Linked DNA regions of Homo sapiens: all the other regions are linked to region 4. Evidence: promoter capture Hi-C in 16 types of primary human blood cells and fetal thymus (Javierre and others, 2016). All regions are on one chromosome and are shown on one strand. The core of a region is centred on a gene start or on the middle of the fragment in contact, and the rest is flanking DNA. Distances in the headings are between cores, read along the strand shown.

Region 1 (2,782 bases), core at 15-2,514, 330 kb after region 4:
GGAACCTCAGAGAACTCCCAGGGTCATTTCAAACTTCTAGGGAAACATGGCCACATCTGTTGGACATTATGCGAACTTCTAGCTCAAGGTAGTTCACAGTTTCAACAGCTGATTGTGCCATCTTCATTTTGTACCTGTGATATCTTTGTGAAGTTGAGCTTTTAGTGGTTACTGTTTTAAAAAGCAAGTACTATGCAAAAATCAGTGTGGAACAGGAAATGTGGGTGGCAGTATTTAGTTGCACAGCATCTAAGTTTTAGAAGTTGTGCAGGGCCCTGTAGGTGAAAACATCCCATAGTAACTAATTGTGGTTATTTTAAAATGAAATATATATATATATTTTTCAGTTTGCATGTATTATTTTTTCAAAAAGGTGTTAATTTGTTGGGACATAGATACTCATTTTGTTTGAACCTAACTGTTAAAAGAAATAGGATGGTTAGCTATCTCTTTTGACCTATGGAATTCTTGAAAGAAATTATAGAGAAAATAAGGGTACCAGGAGCCAAGCAAGTTTGGGAACCTCTCTACTTTAACTTAAAGTTATTACAAATATTCAAAGATTAAGAACATTTGGAGTGCTCTGTAGGTAGCGCATACACCATGCTTGCTTAGAACAGGCAAAACTAACATTGCCTGGGCACCTGGGACAGACAGCATTTCTGAGCAAATGATATTTAAGCTGAGCTTGAAGGAAGACTGAGAACTGACTGAAAAGGAGTGGTGGTGGGAATAGCTTGTGTGAAGAGGCGGGAGCGGTGGGGAACTGACTGGGAGAGCAATGCAGGGGAGCTGGAAATAGGCAGAAGCTAGATCAGGTGGTGACTGACGTGGCAGTCGACTAAAGGAGTTTCTTCAGGTTTCTTTGTAAAAGGCAACGGCAAGCCTTTGAGGGGTTTTAAGTGAAGAGAGGATATCTTAGGTCACTGCCCTCCTACTGAGAGAACAAAATACAAAACGATATACAGAAATATTTAAGTAACTTTTTGTAAAAATTTTGAAGTGCCTTGATTTTGAAAGGCATTTGTAAGCTTTCCTTTGAGTGTAATTCACTCTTACTTTTTCAAACACATATACTTTTTTTCGTTGTTCAACCTGGCTCAATTTTAAAAATGAAATAAAAAGCAAGACAGTGTTAAACTGCGAAACATTTAAATTGTAATTTTGGGGGTATTTTTTCAAATGGCAAAAATTGTGTTGTAATTTTGAAATAGAATGTATTTTATTATCAGTAATACAATATTTCAGATTTTTAATTTGTGTATTTTAACCACCAATCTAACACATTTATCTTTTAAGTTTCTGAGTTAAGTTTGGGGGGTATAATAGAGATTTAATAGTTACATAGTAAAGATATAAAGGTAATTTCTCTTAGTTTAGCTATCTTTTTATACTTTTTATTTATGTGTTTATTCTACTATGATTCCAGTAAACTAATGCAACATAAACATTTTGATAGTAATAAGAAACTAATTGCAGGTTACTTTTTAAAAATTTCTAAGCTTATTTTCAGGAATTTTAAGACTTGAAAAATAAATTTCATGGTCATTAAATGGGCATAGAGACCTGAAACACTTTTTTTTTTTGAGACGGAGTCTGGCTCTTGCCAGGCTATAGTGCAATGGTGTAATCTCGGCTCACTGCAACCTCCACCTCCCAGGTTCAAGTGATTTTCCCGCCTCAGCCTCCCAACTAGCTGGGACTACAGGCATGTGCCACCATGCCTGGCTAATTTTTGTATTTTTAGTAGAGATGGGGTTTCACCATGTTGGCCAGGCTGGTCTCGAACTGCTGACCTCATGATCCACCCACCTTGGCCTCCCAAAGTGCTGGGATTACAGGCGTGAGCCACCGTGCCCAGCCACCTCTTTTCTAATACCTGCTTGTGGTGTTTGGGAAAGTGTAATTAGTCTGATTAGAATTAGAATTTGTTTATCATTGAAGTATTGGAAAACTTTTAAAACAATTGAATGTTATTTCTTTTCCTCTGCCAGTGTGTTTTATATTTCTTTAGAGGTGTTTGTTCATTATATAATATAGAATTTATGTCATCCTTAAATTCATAATGCAAATAAATTATAAAGAAGTGTGTAGATATATTCGAAAAACAGTCTTAGTTTCATTTGCTGGATTGGGTTTCTCTGATTTTTCACATGAAGAAAGCTGATGACAACTTGAGTTGTTTACAAGGGAATTGGTCAGAAGTTTTCTTGAAGAAAAGTGATAAAGCTTTAAGTTGGAAAGCTTTCCAACAGGCTGAGAGTATAAGGTTTATAACAAATATTTTTCTTTAAATTTTGTTCTTCCCATGTTCAAAGAACTGACAGGGACTTAGAGAAAGTAAGCTAATTCCTTCCGTGCTCTTTACACTAAAATGAATTCTAGATGAAGATTAAATGTAGAAAATCACAAGAGTAATAGAACAAAGCAAGGCTGAAATTTTTTATGATCTTGGGATAAAAAAGACCTAAGTATAACTATGTTTAGTTTTATGTAGCTTAAAATTTATTCTTATAACAAATATTATAAAGTCAAATGGAAAAAAGAATATTTGTAAAATATGATAGCAGATTGCTTTTTAAGTCAGTCGGATGAATAAATTCTCTAGAAAATGGACAAAGTGTGTGTATAGTAAATTTATGAAAAAAATACAAATAACTGATAAACATAAAAAGATACCTCTTAAGAATCATTTTAATTTTCTGCCTCTTTTATGTTCAACAGAGAATTTCACTTTGAATGCAGTAACTTAAAGTATTTATAAATCTGATTCTAGGGTTTG
Region 2 (2,834 bases), core at 146-2,645, 310 kb after region 4:
GCATACCATATTACATTTAATTGTTATGTCTTCTTGGGCTCTCTTGGCTGTGATAGTTTCTCAGACTTTCCTTATTTTTGATGACCTTGATAGTTTTAAGGAGTACTGGTCAGGTATTTTATAGAATGTTTCTCTGTTAGGATTTGTCTGATGTTTTTCTCAGGATTAGACTGGGGCTTATGGTTTTGGAAGGATGACCACAGAGGTAAAGTGCCATCACACCATTTCAAGGCATTGATACATAATATCAACATGATGTATCACTATTAACATTGACCTTGATCACCTGGCTGAGATTGTGTTTGTCAAGTTCTCCCTGGTAAAGTCACCTACCTTTTTCCATACTGTACTCTTTTGAGAAGAAAGTCACCATGGGCAGCCTGCACTTCAGGAGTGGGGAATTATGTTCTCCCTCGTAGAGGGTGGTGTTTCTATGTGAATTATTTGGAATTCTTCTGCATGGGGTATTTGTCTTTTTTCTCCATTTAAAAATCTTTCAACTGTATATTATGAACTCATGGGTATTTATTTTGTACTTTGGATTATAATCCAGTAATCCTTTATTTTGTTGCTTAAATTGTTTCAGCTTTGACCATGGGAAGTTCCTTTTTTTTTTTTTCTTTTTGGATACAAGGTCGTGCTCTGTCACCCAGGCTGGAGTGCAGTGACATGCTTACAGCTCACTGCAACCTCTGCCTCCCAGGCTCAGGTGATCCTCCCACCTCAACCTCCCAAGTAGCTGGGACCACAGGCGTGCACTACCAACCACGCCTGGCTAATTTTTTGTATTTTTTGTAGAGACAGGGTTTCGCCATGCTTCCCTGGCTGGTCTCGAACTCCTAAGCTCAAGCAATCCACCTGCCTTGGCCTCCCAGAGTGCTGGGATTATAGGCACGAGCCACTGTGCCTGGCCGGAAGCTCCTTAATTTGGCCCCGGTGTCTCATTGACATACCTCCATCATTGTGCTTTTTGTTTTGTTTTGTTTTTAGCACTTCCTTACCTTTGGGCACTACAACATGCTCCAGACTCATCATTTGTATTTCTTGCCTAATTTTAGAATTAACCATTCCTTCAAGGAGCCCTGGTTCCTTCTATAACTATTTTTTTTAATTGCGATATAACTCACATACTATATAATCCACCTATTTAAAATGTGCAACTCAGTAGCTTTTGATATATTCACAGATGTGCAGCCATTGCCGCAATCAATTTTAGAACATTTTCATCACCCCAAAAGAAATCTTATACCCCATAAGCAGTCTACTGTCCATTTCTCATGTTCCCCGGTCCTAGATAACACTCTTTTGATTTACCTATTCGGGATATTTCATGTAAATGAAGTCATATAATATGTGATCTTTTGTGCCTGGCAGCTTTTACTTAGCATGATGTTTTCAAGGTTCGTCCATGTTGTAGCTTGTATTAGTATTTCATTCCTTTTTATGGCCAAATAATAACTTCATTGTCTGGATATAATACATGTTATATAATCATTAGTTGAAGGACATTGGTTTATTTGCGTGTTTATACCTTTTGGCTATTATGAATAATGCTGCAATGTATATTCTATACAATAGCCTTTCTAAAGATTTTGTTGTTGTTTGAATTGGAATTAGTATCTACACAATTGATTGGTATACGTTTTAAGTTTCTTTTAAGTGATAATTATCCCCTCTTCACCTCCCTGTTTTCTTCTTTGTCATTTGTCCAGAAGAATTTCCACATGGTTGGGATATTGCTGGTTGCTTCCCCATGGTGTTTCTTACCATCTTCCTCTGTCTTTTTTATTTTTATTTTTGTTTCTTAATTGTTAGTTGGATCTAGAGATTTGATCATTTCAGGGTTTTGTTGGACTGCCACATAGGTGATGGTAATTTATTCTTTCATCAAGAGGTGTGTAATGTCTGTTTGGGTCTGTTTCTCTGTTGCTATTAGCTACCAGGGTTTAGAAAACCATAGCTAGGCTGGGCACGGTGGCTCACACCTATAAGCCCAGCACTTTGGGAGGCTGAGGCGGGCGGATCACGAGGTCAAGAGATTGAGACCATCCTGGCCAACATGGTGAAACCCCGTCTCTACTGAAAATACAGAAATTAGCCGGGCATGGTGGTGTGCACCTGAAGTTTCAGCTACTCAGGAGGCTAAGGCAGGAGAATTGCTTGAACCCAGGAGGCAGAGGTTGTAGTGAGCTGAGATTGTGCCACTGCACTCCAGCCTGGCGACAGAGTGAGACTCTGTCTTAAAAAAAAAAAAAAAACTTAACAGCTAATGGTCAGTTGTCTCTGGCTTGTTTTTTAAATAACCTATAAGCTAATGTTGATTTTTACATTTTGAAAGTGTTTTTAAAAAAGAATTAAAAAAATAAGCAAAGGAGAATTTGCGACAGCAACTGTGTGTAGCCTGAAAAGCCTAACATATTTTCTGTCTGGCCCTCTACAGAAAATATTTGCTGACTTCTGTACCGTTTACTTTTTATTGCCTAGAGCTGTTGATTCATTAGGAGTTGCAAAATAGTGATAATCTATCATTTTTTCATTTATTTGGTAGAGTACTTCTATAAACAGAAACTTTCACCAACAATTTTATTGCCACCAGGAACAGTTTGATGGGGAAAGATGTTTAATTTTTTTCCTCTTCCTTTTGAAAAGTTTTCAAGATGATTTGGTTCTATAGCATTCACGAAAGATGACCAATTAGTCTTTATTTGTTTTTTTTTTTTTGAGATTAAAGTAATGGAATTCAACAGATTTGACCATTTCAGTTGTTTTATTATCATTATTGAAGCCTAAATGTCCCATGGGTCTTCAGAAAGTTCATGGAAAATGCATATATG
Region 3 (2,700 bases), core at 186-2,685, 490 kb after region 4:
GAAAGAGTAGTGTGTTCTTGTGATGGATAGTTCAACTCAGGCAGGCTATTAACCTGAAAGACTTATTTGTGGACGTTACAGAGAAAAAGAGACTAAAAAGAGCCTTTTAAATAAAACCCTAGATAAGAAAATGAAGATAAAGCACTGAACCAAGTAAGCCTAGCCTAATAAAATTTAACTGGGGACTGAATCTAAGGAATTATGGAAGCCCTGTATGAATTTAATTTCTGTTAGTACTAAAGTCAAGTTTCAGTTTGTTTGGAAGTTTGTGGGGGTTTTAGTTTTTTTCCTTTAAAAAGTTCTGCCTGTCCCATCTTCAAAGCTTGTGATCCTTGCTCTTGTTTTTTCTTCCCCTGTGCTTGGCCTGTTAGCGGACTCCTCTGATAAAATGCCTAATGATCAAGGTAAATGAGTAGATGGCCTCTCTTTTCTTTCCTTTCTTTTGTGACCTATTATTAGCTTTTGGTTTTTGTTTCTTTTTTTTTTTTTTTTCCTGAAAAATCAGCACCATGTGTTAAAAGCCACACAGTTATTGGCCAAAGTAGAGTTGAGTCCATGTTCTGAAAAGCTGGGGAATTTATGTAGAAGCTAACTAGGCTGGCAGAAGAAAACTGAACCAGTAAACTGGTCCTGCAGCTGTAGGAGATTCGTCTTAAGTGTGGATCAGATCATCCTTTGTGCTGAGATATTGAAGTTCTGTGACAACGATAAGCATTTAAGTCATGATTAGACCGATCATACCAATTGTTCATGTTTGCAGCAGTTGTTCATATTTGATCATACCAATTGTTTATATTTGTAGCATCTAGAATTTTATTAGTGTCTTTAAGTGGAAAGTTGTATCACATTCAGTGAATACCCTATTTTCCTCTTCCCACAAAGAATCCACAAATTTACCTTACTCAATGTTGTGATTCTGTGTGACTAAATTACTGCTTTGTTTATTCTGTTACCATAAACTTAATTCAGAGCTCTTTTTTCATTTCTCCCCTTAAATATATCTGATCATATTAAAAGAGGATCAAAACTATTTGAAATAAAAACTTAGGCCACGTACGGTGGCTCAGGCCTGTAATCCCAGCACTTTGGGAGGCCAAGGTGGGAGGATCACTTGAGCCCAAGAGTTCAAGACTAGCCTGGGCAACAAAGTGAGACCCCCTCTCTACAAAAAATAGGAAAAAAAAGTTAGCTGGGCATGGTGGTGCGCACCTATAATCCCAGCTACTCCGGAGGCTGAGGTGGGAGGATGGTTTGAGCCTGGGAGGTGGAGGCTGCAGTGAGTCGTGATCACACCACTGCACTCCTGCCTAGGTGACAGAGTGAGACCCTGTCTCAAAAAAAAAGTAAATAAATAATAATAATAGTGATAATTGAAATGGGGACCTAGCAAACAGGGGCCTCCATGTCACCATTCTTGAAACCATCTGTCAATAGTCTTTACACTGTAACTGCCATGGTGGAGGGATAGCTATATTTTGTGATTTTTATCTCTAGGAAGTCAGCTAATGCTAGTATGTTTTCCATACTGAGAATGAACATTAAAAGTAAATTTAATTATTGCTCTCTTGGTTTAAGAGTAGTTGTTAGAATTGCAAGTTATTTGGATCTTGGCTAATGGCAAGGAAGAGTCAGAACTTGAGGTATCAAGTTTTCCAGAACACTTTGGAAATGTGTTTGCATTCAGTGAGTCTTTTGCACTACATTGGAGAAACTGCAAACATACTTTCTGTTGTGTGAAAGTGCAGGAATATAAAAATACCCATAATATATATATGCACAGAATATAAATGGGCTCATTGTTTTCTCACTTGATTCCATAGCCAGAGTGCAATTCTTAGCTGCCTGACACCTCTGGTATTTAAAATTCTTTACTCATTGATATTTTTGGTGCTCAGTTCATCCTTGGAATTTCTTGTTCATAGTTTACATTCAAGAGAAACAATGTTGGGAAATACAGGAATATAAACCATCCAGTTTGTTAGCAATGTGTGTTCTTTGACAATTAGGTACATAATCCAATGCTCTGGATAGTTTGGCTTAAATGTAGCCTAGCTGTCAACTAAGTACACTTAAACCTGAAGAGCCTTGCAGGTGCTAAGCCATCTCCACCAGCTAGACTTTGTCATAGTGAAAAGCATATGAGGAACAACTGGACTCTTAATCTATGGTGTGTGTCACTTGGGAGAAATGATGGCATCAGAAGTAAGGAGATAAAGTAATATGTGTGGACAATGGAAAAAGGGCCAGGGACTGTGAGTAAATTCTAGAATATGCCCTTTTGGATATCCAGGAACTCCTGTTACCTTCTTTTGGTAGGTTTTCAGTTTCTGGAAGCATAGCATTGTTTTAGTCACTGGATTTATTCTGTTAGATGAACTGCATACACAAACTTCAGATTTTAATGTTTTCATTTCATTGAATATATGTATCTCCTGATAATTTATGGAAGTACTTGACATTAGCTCTAATGTTTTGCAGAAACACCTAGTTTATACATTTCTAGTAAGGCTTTATTTGTAGAAATAACTCTCATTTATAAGTGTTTTTTGAAGCTTCATGCTCTCTGCCTCTTTAAAGAGAAGATTATACTCTTTCGTGAAGATTTTTTATGCTTGTAATAGGAGTGGTTAACATTTATGGAACATCTACTATGTGTCAGTCAGTATTAAAAATATTTTATGGTATTAAATTTCCATTTAA
Region 4 (2,844 bases), core at 188-2,687:
ACCTGTTCCCAAACAAACCATGTACTTTTTCACATTTGGTTCTCTTGCCTAGGTGGACCTGTTCCCACTTTGGCTTGAAGAAATCTCATTTATTTAGTGTCTGTCCTATGAAAGTCACTGTAGTAAAATATATTTTCCAAGATGGTGGCAATAAGATGCCCCATTCCAAATGTTCTTTTCACAATGTGACACTGATGCTCCTCCCATCAAGGTTTGTTCTATGTCCCCTCCCTTAAAACCAGGTGGACCTGTGACTCTGGTAGAAGAGTTCCTATGTGCTTCTAAGGTAAGGTCGTAAAAGGCATTAAGGCTTCTGCCTGGTCCTCGTGGGTTGTTCCTCTTCTAACCATAATTGTTATGGATTGAATTGTCCACCCCCCACCAATTCATATGCTGAAACCCTAATTCCCAATGTGACTATATTTGGACGTAGGGCCTTTAAGGAAGTAGTTAAGGTTAAATAAGGTCATACGGGTGAGCCCTATTCCAAAAGGACCTAGTGTCCACATAAGAAGAATAAGAGGCACCAGGAGTGTACATGCGCAGACTAACTGAAAAGCCAGCTGGCTGCAAGCTAGGAAGAGAGGCCACATCGGAAGCCAATCCTGCCAACACCTTGATCTTGGACTATCAGCCTCCAGATCCACGAGAAAACAGATTTGTTGTTTAATCCACCTAATTTGTGGTATTCTGTTCTAGCAGCCCAAATGACTGATACAATAATATGTTTCCAACAAGTGAGACAGGGGCCTTGCTTCACCCATCTCTGTATCTTAAGAACCTAGCACAGACCTGACACTAACCATGTAGTTGGTGAATATCTGCTGAATGAACGCGCATAAAGCAAGGAAGGACAATTTAATCCCAGCACTTTGGGAGGCCAAGATGGGAGGCTGGCTTGAGCTCAGGAGTTCGAGACCAGCCTGGGCAATATAGCAAGACCTCGACTCTACTAAAAAAAATAAAATAAATAAAAAATTGGCTGGGCGTGGTGGTGCTTGCCTGTCGTCCCAGCTACTCCAGAGGCTGAGGCAGAAGGATCTCTTGAGCTCGGGAGTTCGAGGCTGCAGTGAGCAGTGATTGCACCACTGCACTCCAGCCTAGGCGACAGAGAGAGAGACCCTGTGTCCAAAAAAAAAAAAAAAAAAAAACCCCAAAATTATAGCTAATATCGAATGCTTTTTAAAGCAGGCACTATGCTAGAGAGATTACATGAATGATGTCATTTAATCTTCAGGCCAAGTTTGCTCTACTTTACCCCTCCCGGCCCCAACACTCCACAGAAAGTAGTGAGCTACATGGTAGAGGGCCTGCTTTTATGTGGTGGTTATACATAACTCTGAGATTACGGCAAGAAAGTCAAATCGAACTGAGACAGGGACTAAAGTTAGTGTTTACAGTATCAATACTATAAAGAAAATAATTACATTCCCAAGGAAAAGTACAAAGAAAGGAGGTAGTGTCATTTGGAAGAACCTTAAATATGCAGTGTCACTGAAGTCAGGGGAAGAAAAGAATTTCACGGAGAAGGGCGTGTTCAATGCGTGGAAGGCTGCAGAGTAGATAATGAAGATTCAAAAAGGCAAATCTGAGAGGAGTTGCAGTACAGTCGTGTGGTTTCTAGACTACACGGCGTTTCGAAAGTGGGTAAAGGCAGACATCACGCGTCTTCAAGAAGTTCAGAAGAAAGAGGAAGAGTGTTGTCATAGTGGGTAAGGTCAAGTATCTTTGATTGCAAAACAACAGTCGCCAGAAGAGAAGGGGCTAAAAGTTGGAACGAGGAAGAAGGCTCGGAGAAAGGTGTCAGACAAAGCGGGATTAGCAAGAAGCTGTTAGGGCTGGTCCTACCGGGATGAGAGAAAGGCGCAGAGGCCAGCCGAGTGGAAAGAGCAGCGGTGACGAACCGGGTTCCACTCAGACGTCCGACACTTCTCGCCAAGGGGCCAGCGCGGACAGCAGCGCCTCCCGGGGACCTCTGAGAAGCCCTGTTTCTGCGCGGCTCCGCCCGACCTCCAAGGCCGACCTCGGAGGCTCAGAGACCCAGGCCCCGTTGGCACTCACCCCACTGCCACGCGGCGCCAGCGCCGGACTGGCCGCACGATAAGCGCGTCCCAGGCTGCCGCCAACCGGCCCTCGGGGGAGACGGGTCCCGGGGGCGCAGGCGCGGGCCCCAGACACAGCGAGCTCCAGAGAGAGCGCAGCGCCGAGCCTGGCAGCTCTGGCTCCAGCAGGAAGACGCAGCCCACGGCCAGCGCCAGGAAGCCCGCGTACGCGGAGCCGCGCCACAGCGCCATGGGGACCCAGGCGCCGCACCTGCGCGAACCAACTCCTTTCCTAGCCCGCGCCTCTTCCGGGCTCGGCGCGCGCCGATGTCGACACAAGCGCTACGTCACAAGGGTGCGCCACGGGGCCCCCCAAGGGGCGGGGCGACGGGCGGCGCCAGGACGGAGCGAGGGGGGACCCCACGCCTCAGTCCCAGGCCTGGCACTGCGGTGTTGCCGCCCCGGAGGAGGTGGGACAACGGCGGTTGTGCCAGTCCGGGCGCTGCACCCCCTTCCCGGAACTCTAATCGTATCCCCAAATAGAGGGATGGGAACACATTTGCTTTCGCAGTAAAACGAAACGGACAGATTGTGAAGAAGCGGACAAACCTCGCGTTAATATTCGAACCAGTGGGTGTCCCCATTGGCACGGATCACACCCCCATCTTTTAATCCCTCCCTCCGCCCGTGTCCCCTCATTTGCTAGACTTGTCCTCTTCCAGGCCTAGTGCTCGGCGCTTCTGAGAGGAATAGGCTCACAGAATAGCGGCGCTGCCGAGACCCCTGGGGTACGCGAGGCAGG
Region 5 (3,096 bases), core at 401-2,900, 410 kb before region 4:
GGGCTTGGACTTTTAATTTTTATTGTTTTATTTTTAAAATCACCAAGTTCTTCCCACTATTATACCCTCCCTTAAAGACTGAAAAAACATTCATAACTATTTTCTTGTTATCCTCGGAAATGTCTGGAAGGCAGGCAGAGTTAAAAAAAAAAAAAAAAAAAAGGAAGTAGCAGCAACAGCTTGGAAATTAGGCAATTAGTCTGAAGGCACAGAGTTAAGGGGTTAATAAACACTTTCTCAGCTGACTCCTGAATGAATCATGTTCCACATCCTGAGTCCTCCAATGTATACTGTGTTCAAACAGAATATCCAAAGCAGGGGAACACCTACAGCTCACAGAAATAAAACTCAAATTTTTCATAAACCAGGCCCAGGCTACCCACATACACCTTGATCAAGTTTAGCTTCTTGGACTCAGTACTATACAGGGATACTAGAAAAGTATCATGCTTTAGGTAATAAATGGTGGCTCACACCTGTAATCTCAGCACTCGGGGAGGCCGAGACAAGAGGATCGCTTGAAGCCAGGGGTTCAAGACCAGCCTGGGCAACACAGTAAGACCCCCATCTCTACAAAATGCAAAAAATAAAAAAATTAGCTGGGTGCGGTGGCATGCGTCTGTAGTCCTAGCTACTCATCAGTGAGGCGGGAAGACTGCTTGAGTCCTGGAGTTCGAGGTTGCTGTAAGCCGTGATCACACCACTGCACTCCAGTCTGAATGACAGAGAAAGACCTGTTTCTTAAAAAAAAAAAGAAAGAAAAGAAAAGAAAAAAACAGGGCTGTGAGAAGAGAGGCTGGTGGAAGACTGCAGGCCAAGCTAATCTAGGCCCTGGGATTCAAAATGAAATATGACACTTATTTTGCCCTTCAACTAAAAACTGTGCTTCTGCCATCACCTTCTTTCTAAAGACAATTTATTCATCACTGTATTTCTCCTATGTATCCCTCGTTCTCCAGAAACCCCTTCATGAGAAAAAGTAATTCTACTACAAAACCTTCTTCCCGTGTTGTTTTCTTCCTCTTTGCTTTTAAAACAATAAACTTAGTGGCAATCATCTTTGGCAGGAATATGCCTTGTCTTTGCCGTGGGAAAGGTTAAAGTATAGTTAGCCGCTAGCCCAATTAAAGTGGAGAGAACTAATCGGCCTTATTCTTTCTCCCCAGCCCAGCTGCTTGACCTTATCTGTTTCCCTCCTAGATGCAATCCCAATGCATCTCTCACTGCATGCTGAGTTAAGAGCAGCACGAGTTGGGATCACACAATAAGCAGCATAGTGTGATTATCCTTTGCCTGGAATCACACACTTACACTCCAAATTGGTAACCTGAAAGGAAAGGTAATCCTCAATGAAAACCTGCAAATCATATCTTTTTGATGATCTTCTCAGACCTGTAATCCCAACACTTTGGGTGGCTGAAGCAGGCAGAGTGGTTGAGCCCAGGGGTTCGAGACCAGCTGGGGCAACATGGTGGTACTCCATCTCTACAAAAATTAGCTATGCACCTGTAGTCCCAGCTACTCAAGAGGCTGAGATGGGAGGACAGCTTGAGCCTCGGAGGTCGAGGCTGCAGTGGGCTGTGTTTGTGCCACTGCACTCCAGACTGGGTGACAAAATAAGACCCTGTCTCTAAAAGAAAAAAAAAAAAAAAAAAAAAAGAAAACAAAACCCAAACCCATAAAGCCTTCTTACAAATGTTTACACAAAGTAGCTCTTTAACGTTAATATATTTTACAAATAATTACTACATATCTACAACGTTCCAGATACAGAAGAAATGGCCAAAGAAGGTATTTTAGGAGATCCAGATTATAATGAACTATGCCATTTATTAATTTAGTCACTTCTTTAATATCTGAGGATGAGCAAATCAAATACTGATAATGGCTGCAGAAGGACACAGGCTCTTATATAATAATCTTACTTCCATTCCAGAATAAAAGGGCTGGAGAAGGGGGGCAGGATTATTCTGTTGAAGGACAATGGCATCCTCAGCAACTCACAGGGATGTGCAGGTGAACATCAGACCAGGATGGGAACCTTATAATATCTATGATATACTATGGCTTCTATCAACCAGTTTCAGGAAAAGCAAAGAAGAATGCAGTCATGGCCAGGTGCAGTGGCTCACACCTGTAATCTTGAGGTGGGCAGATCACATGAGGCCAGGAGTTCGAGACCAGTCTGGCCAACGTGGTGAAACCCCATCGCTACTAAACCCCGTCTCTACTAAAAAATAAAAAATTAGCCAGGCATGGTGGTGGGTGCCTGAATTCCCAGCTACTTGGGAGGCTGAGGCAGGATAATCACTTGAACCCAGGAGGTGGAGGTTGCAGTGAGTCAAAATCACACCACTGCATTCCAGCCTGGGCAACAGAGCAAGACTCCATCTCAAAAAAAAAAAAAAAATGCAGTCTAATGGCAGAATTAGACTTAGCCACTTTACTTGGAAAAATTTGGACTTTATCAGCTCCATCAAGCACCATGCTCCACACCATGCTTATTAAATGTCTGGAGCAACATTAGATGGGTGCCATTCCAAATTCCAAATAATCACATCTTTGCTTTGCAAACAGGATGTGGCTTAATAATCAAACAGGGAACTAGATTCATTCAAGTATCTAGTTCCTAAAATAAGTCTATTTAACAGGTTCAACAACATGCAACACACACCCTCCAATTGGTAGAAACACCTCTCAATGACAAAGAAAGGTGGCAAATACTAAACACCTTCACAGACCATTTAGCAACTGGTGGGACTAACCCTTGAAGGTGAATTCAAAATAGAACTGAACCTCAATACCAGACTTCTTTTTCAGAAAAGGGAGTATGAATTCTTAGTTTCAGGTTCAGACAAAAACCAGAAGTTGTATTGCATTAGGAAAAACACTGGGCTGGTCAGGTGGCTCATTCCACCCTGTAATCCCAGGACTTTGGTAGGCCAAAGCAGGGGGATCACTTGAGCTCAGGAATTGGAGACCAGCTTGGGCAACATGGCGAAACCCCATCTACAGAAAATACAAAAATTAGCCAGGTGTGGTGGCATGCTCCTGTGGTCCCAGCTACTCAGGAGGCTGAGGTGGGAGAATTGCTTG
Region 6 (2,807 bases), core at 48-2,547, 420 kb after region 4:
AAATAAAAGATTTTATTTTACCTTTGCTTTTTCCTTCTCCAGCACTCTTTCTTTCTTTGTAAATCCAAGTTTCTGACCTATATCATTTTCCTTCTGCTTGAAGAACTTCTTTTAACATTTCTTGCAGGGCAAATTATCTGCTGATTGATTCTCCTTATTTTTGTTTGTCTGAGAAAGTTTTTATTTCTCATTAACCTTTGAAGTGCAATTTTGCTGGATATAGAATGTAAGGTTGGTGGGTTTTTTTTTCAGCACTTTGAATATTTCACTACACTTAACATGGCTTTTGACATGCTCTCCACTGTAATTCTTATCATTATTCCTCTGGAGGTAGGGTGGTTTTTTTTATTCTGCCGTCTTTCAAGATTTTCGCTTTGTCTTTGGTTTTCTGCAGTTTGGGTATGATGTGCTTAGGTGTAGATTTTTAAAATATTTATTGTGCTTGGTATCCTCTCAGCTTCTTGGATCTGTGGTTAGGTGTTTGTCATTAATTTTGGAAAATTCTCGCTTTATTCTCTCTTCTCTGATATTCCAATTAGATGTACATTCCACTTTTTGATAATGCCCCATGATTTTGGATATTCTGTTTTTTTCATTCTTTTTTCTCTTTGCATTTTAGTGTAGGAAGTTTCTACTGGCTGTCCTCAATTGACCCATTCTTTCCACACCCACGTTGAATCTACTGATGAGCCCATCAAAGGCATGCTTCATTTTTTCTTTGTAGAATTCCTTTTGATTCTTTTTTTACAGTTCTGTCTCTGTGCTTACTAGTCTCTTCTTGCATGTTCCCTACTTATTTTCATTACAGCCCTTAGCATTCTAGTCATAGTTATTTGAAATACCCTGGTGATAATTCCAACATCTTTGTCTTTTTCTGATGGTTGTTTTGTTTCTTCAGACTGGGGTTTTTCTTGTTTGGGGCATGAAAATATTATAATTTCTTGTTGAAAGCTTGGTGTCTTGTATGCAGTAATAAGAACTGAGATAAATAGGCCTTTAGTGTGAGGATTTATGTTAATCCAGCTAGAAGTTGGGTTGTGTGTTTAATGTTTGTTGTAGCTATAGGTTATCAGAGACTTGAAGCTTCTTTAGCGTACTTGATTTTTTGTCTCTACTCTTGACTTCGGAACTTCCCTAAGTATTACTCCTCAGAGGGAGCCTTTTTCTTGCAGTTCTTTCAGCTAATAGTTGTTTCCGCTATTATTCTTGAGCACTGTTTGTATAATGTTAAGATGTGAGGGAGAAGGACATGCTATGATCTTTGATTAAGTCTCAGGTTTTCAGGGGGCTTGTCTTATGGTTGTGACCTTCACAAGTGTTTCTCCAGTAGTACAGCTTTCTTCCCCCTGTTCCCTATTCCCTTTCCCATCTGTAGTGTTCCCAATCTATTTCCTGAAGCCCCTGTCCTCTCTTGACTATGGGTTGTCGTATTCTCTTCTAACCCCCACTTAGGTCAAACAGGAAAGCTGAAGAAAATTGGAGGAACAAGGAATTTCTTTCCTCTAGCTGGGATAAGCTTTCACAATTAATTCTCTGGAACAGGTTCTGGGCATGTTTCATGATGGTTACTCTTCCTCTCCCCCTGCCAGAGACAGGAGGGAATCTTTTGGAATCCTCGTGATGACAACCTGGTAAAATTCCTGGAGGGAATGTCCACAGAAATGTAGTCACCCCTAAGACTGTGGCCCCCAGGATTTTTTCATTCTCACAATAGTCCACACTCAACCTCTAGCAATTTGTAAGATTACCTTTTAAGTGTTCCTACCAGTTTATGTCTCCCATGGCTTCTGCTTCATGTAAGCAAATCTTGGTTGCTGTATGTCTCTGAATGCACCTGTCTCTACAGTTTGGGGTGGGGATTTGCCCTGCAATCTCATTTCTCTAGTGAGTCCAGGAAAGTCATTCATTTTCAATTTTCCAGCTTTTTCTTGTAAGAATGAAAATGATGACTTTCAAGCTATTTACATGCCACCATTGAAACTGGACATCTCTCCTGGCTATATTTTTAATTTTCAACATCTGTAATTTTTTTTTTGTTTTTTTTTGAGTCAGAGCCTTACTCTGTAGCCCAAGCTGGAGTGCAGTGGTGCGATCTCGGCTCACTGCAACCCCTGCCTCCCAGGCTCAAGTGATTCTCATGCCTCAGCCTCTTGAGTAGCTGGGCTACAGGCATGTGCCACTACGTCCAGCTAATTTTTTGTATTTTAGTAGAGATGAGGTTTCACCATGTTGCCCAGGGTGGTCTTGAACTCCTGAGCTCAAGCAATCTGCCCACCCCAGCCTCCCAAAGTGCTGGGATTACAGGCATGAGCCACCACACCTGGCCTGTAAACTTTTTTTTATAACAGCTTATTCTTGTTTTATGGTATTCTAATATTGATATCTCTTGAAGTTTTCTCCTGTTTCCTTATTTGCTGTTTCCTTTATTATTTCTCTTGTTGAATTTTATGCCTCTCTTTCATTGTGTTAATTGTTAATTCTAGATTGTTTAGCTTTCTATACATATTTGCCTTTGATTATCCCTATATTAGGTTGTTGATAGGTTGTTGACCTATCACAAGTTTATTCATAAAAGTTTGTCATAAGCACTCTTTTTGGGGAAGGAGGTTTAAGGTTTTGTCCCAAGAAAAAAAGCTAGGGTAGCGTGTGGCTCAATAGGAGCAGAAGCAGCAGTATTTCTGGCTCAGACTATCCAAAAATAGTTTGTTTTTGTTGTTGTTGTTGTTTTGTTTTGTTTTTTTAATTACTCATGTATTTTCTCATGTCCTTTACTCTATGGAATATCTCTGGTCTTGCTTATCTGCTCA
Region 7 (2,700 bases), core at 47-2,546, 500 kb before region 4:
ATTTCATTTATCTGCCCATCATCTCTTCCTTAGGGACCCATTTCTCCCCTTCCACACAGTCCTGATGAAGTTGTCAATTATGGTGGCCTACTCTTCTATCCTAGTGGTGGGCATGTGTCCAAAGCTGGCCAAAGTCCTCCCTGGGATTTTAGAACTAGAACTAATGAGGCCAACATATGGAAGGAAGCAGAGCCAAGAGATGGAGACATCATCCTTTGAACCCCTAGATCCAGCCATGCTTCAAGGCAGATACATGCTTTGATTTATCAGTTATGTAAATCAATTAATTTCCAATTGGCCTAAACATGTTTGAGTTGGGTTTTTGACACTTGCAACTGAAAAGGTCCAGACTAATACATGCACACAGAGAGACACAAACACCATATTGTTCAAGCTCATCAGACATTATATAAGTCTTCCATGATCTTACCAGGGGTCAGCAAACTTTTTGTCTAAAGGACAAGATAGATAGATATTTTAGGCTGTGTGGGCCATATGTGGTCTCCGTTTCACTTTCTTGTTTTGTTTTGACGACCCTTCAAAAATGTAAAAAAAATTATTAGTTTGGTAGTTCATACAAAAATAGGCCACAGGCCAGATTTGGCCCACAAGCCATAGTTTGCCAACCCCTGATCTAGACCATGTCAAACCCTGAAGCTTTGGAATCACACAGTCTGCCAGTCCTTAGCCCATACTCTAAAGTATGAAGCCAGATATTTTAAATGTCATTTTGGTTCAAGTGTCTTGACATGACTTGGTAATGGTAAGGTTCAGGGTAGAGTTAGGAACGGGAAAAGGGTCTTATCTTGTGCCCATTATCTGCCATATAACAGGTACTGAATAAATGGTAATTATTATTATTTCTTGGTAATAAAGATAATTTTTCAAAATGATGCAGCTGTCTAAATGGCTTTGTCCAAATGTCCCAGTTCATCCTTGAAGACTTTTCCCCTTCTTAATCTCCTTCAGAAAGTATTTCACAGACCTCCCCCACCAATAAAGTCTGAACTAGGTACTCTCATTCTTGCTAGCACAGACCTTCTATGGCCCTCCATTGTAACTGGATTATTTGTCTCTCTTTCCCCTTAACTCTGAGTACTTTGAACATACCTGAGCCCCGACACGTAGCACAGTGCTTAGCACCTAGCCTGAGGGGACTCTCTGCTTCCATGTGAATATTAGTTTGAGGGTGCGGGTACTGTGTGTCTCTATTTGTGTCTAGGGTGGTCACTCTAGGTGTCAGCATTGTGCTGGTGCACATACACCCTCTGGTTCTTCCCTCGGTTGGAAAATATTTGTGGATGTCCATCACACCTTACCTGGTAATATTACTGCCAGATCTATGTTTCATTCCCATTCCCTCCAAAAATGAGTCGAAGACAGAAGAACAGGTGGGAACAAGTTTTCTTAGAAACTGTTATGAAGGAGGAGCCCTCCACCCCCACCCCCACATCTTTTACTATCTGACATGTTATCAGATCAGAGGCCTTCAGCCTCAGCAACATCTGGGGATTAGAGGGACCCCACACAGCTGGGGCCTCAGACCAAGCTGATCCATGCCTGTGGGGTGGAGGGGAAATCCTCCTGGGAAAAATATGTGCAAGGCCCTACAGGCCCAGGAAAGGCTGACCAAGGCAAGGTGAGTCATGGTGTTCTAAGCTGAATCTTTTGCCCATCTCACAGAAGCAGGCAGGAAGCACCACCATTGATCAGCTTTATATGGCACCCACTGTATACAACAGACAGACAAAGACAGACAGACAGAGCACACACCACTTCTAAGCTCAACACTGCTCACCAACTAGAAGCACCTCGGTTAAGCACATGTGAGACACTCTTGCATAGGAAAGATGTAGTTTTTAAAGGAATGAAGAAGTATTTTGGCAAAACATCTACTTCCCTCCCAGGTCTGGGGTAAAGAGGGACCTCTAATTCTGAAGCTTCTACATATTGAAAAATTTCCCCTTCTCAATGGCAGTATATACAGTAGCAAACCTTCCAAGTCTGTTGTCACAGCCCTCTACAGATATCCTGAATCTACTTTACAGGTGGGCAAACTTAGACTAAGAGACAGAAGGTAGCCTGGAGCAAGGGGACACTGGGACTGGTTCAAGGGGAAGGGAAACAGGAGGTGTCTCAGCTCAGCCAAAGGCAGGGCCTCTGTCTACCTGGATTGGCAAGGGAAAGGCTCAGGTGGCCAGAACTCCCTCTTTCTTCCCGCCTGGGGAAGCAGTGGTTCCACAGGAAAGGCAATCCCACTCTTGCTGGCTAGGGGGCCTCCCGGGATGGCAAAGGCCAGGGCCAACCTGAGCTCTGCCTGGGGCCTCTTCTGGGATGCACTCTGAGTTTGGGGATTGTGGATTGTGGGTTCACTGCTTCCATAACGTTCTCATTACCTGCATGTGAGCCTAGACCTCAAATCCTTAATTATTTTTAAAAGGGCAGGGTGGGGGAGTGGCTTAAGAGGGAATGAGACACAGAACAATCTTTCCACAGCCCCCATCTGCCTAGGCTGGGGCTGTCAAGGGTCTCCTTCACCCTGTCTCCTAGGGATATTTAAAGGCAGCTTTTATGAGACTCTATACTGTCTTTTTTTGTAGTTGTTTGTCTTGTTTTTTGTTTGTTTGTTTCTTTGTTTTAATTTATATAGATATATATATTCTTAAAAAAGCAATAGTCCTTTGGTCCCTAAACTCTAAG

Evidence for each region. Contacts are between HindIII fragments. The CHiCAGO score rates a contact against its expected background, and 5 or more counts as called.
Region 1: a fragment that was not itself captured here is called in contact with the fragment with the promoter of ADPGK-AS1 in region 4 in 1 of 17 cell types (megakaryocytes); the score reaches 5.6 in megakaryocytes.
Region 2: a fragment that was not itself captured here is called in contact with the fragment with the promoter of ADPGK-AS1 in region 4 in 7 of 17 cell types (naive CD4 T cells, M2 macrophages, total CD8 T cells and 4 more); the score reaches 9.8 in naive CD4 T cells.
Region 3: a contact is called between a fragment that was not itself captured here and the fragment with the promoter of ADPGK-AS1 in region 4, in 7 of 17 cell types (megakaryocytes, erythroblasts, naive CD8 T cells and 4 more). The highest score is 13.0, in megakaryocytes.
Region 5: a contact is called between a fragment that was not itself captured here and the fragment with the promoter of ADPGK-AS1 in region 4, in 1 of 17 cell types (fetal thymus). The highest score is 5.9, in fetal thymus.
Region 6: a contact is called between a fragment that was not itself captured here and the fragment with the promoter of ADPGK-AS1 in region 4, in 1 of 17 cell types (megakaryocytes). The highest score is 5.8, in megakaryocytes.
Region 7: a contact is called between a fragment that was not itself captured here and the fragment with the promoter of ADPGK-AS1 in region 4, in 1 of 17 cell types (fetal thymus). The highest score is 5.5, in fetal thymus.

The regions. Positions count from the first base shown.
Region 1 is chr15:73,113,478-73,116,259 of GRCh38, forward strand. The region is part of intron 1 of NEO1 (neogenin 1); the gene reads left to right. Among named protein-coding and RNA genes, the nearest start is that of NEO1, 62 kb to the left of the region's middle. The HindIII fragment of the contact is 471 bases long and covers 1,030-1,500 here.
Region 2 is chr15:73,092,966-73,095,799 of GRCh38, forward strand. All of the region lies in intron 1 of NEO1 (neogenin 1), which reads left to right. Among named protein-coding and RNA genes, the nearest start is that of NEO1, 42 kb to the left of the region's middle. The HindIII fragment of the contact is 3,259 bases long and covers 1-2,834 here.
Region 3 is chr15:73,274,321-73,277,020 of GRCh38, forward strand. It overlaps NEO1 (neogenin 1), which reads left to right. Exons shown (of 29, transcript NM_002499.4): 21 at 372-404. Among named protein-coding and RNA genes, the nearest start is that of MIR12135, 24 kb to the right of the region's middle. The HindIII fragment of the contact is 2,230 bases long and covers 321-2,550 here.
Region 4 is chr15:72,781,398-72,784,241 of GRCh38, forward strand. It overlaps ADPGK-AS1 (ADPGK antisense RNA 1), which reads left to right and starts at 1,438. Exons shown (of 3, transcript NR_040107.1): 1 at 1,438-2,844. It overlaps ADPGK (ADP dependent glucokinase), which reads right to left and starts at 2,361. Exons shown (of 7, transcript NM_001365225.1): 1 at 2,062-2,361. The coding sequence starts at 2,294. RefSeq lists enhancers at 1,737-1,806, 2,567-2,626, 2,677-2,844 and a silencer at 2,057-2,516. The HindIII fragment of the contact is 5,666 bases long and covers 1-2,844 here.
Region 5 is chr15:72,369,955-72,373,050 of GRCh38, forward strand. The region is part of intron 1 of HEXA (hexosaminidase subunit alpha); the gene reads right to left. Among named protein-coding and RNA genes, the nearest start is that of HEXA, 4.5 kb to the right of the region's middle. The HindIII fragment of the contact is 4,935 bases long and covers 1-3,096 here.
Region 6 is chr15:73,203,881-73,206,687 of GRCh38, forward strand. All of the region lies in intron 7 of NEO1 (neogenin 1), which reads left to right. Among named protein-coding and RNA genes, the nearest start is that of MIR12135, 95 kb to the right of the region's middle. The HindIII fragment of the contact is 433 bases long and covers 1,082-1,514 here.
Region 7 is chr15:72,283,341-72,286,040 of GRCh38, forward strand. It overlaps CELF6 (CUGBP Elav-like family member 6), which reads right to left. Exons shown (of 13, transcript NM_052840.5): 13 at 1,387-2,700. Among named protein-coding and RNA genes, the nearest start is that of PARP6, 12 kb to the left of the region's middle. The HindIII fragment of the contact is 1,283 bases long and covers 656-1,938 here.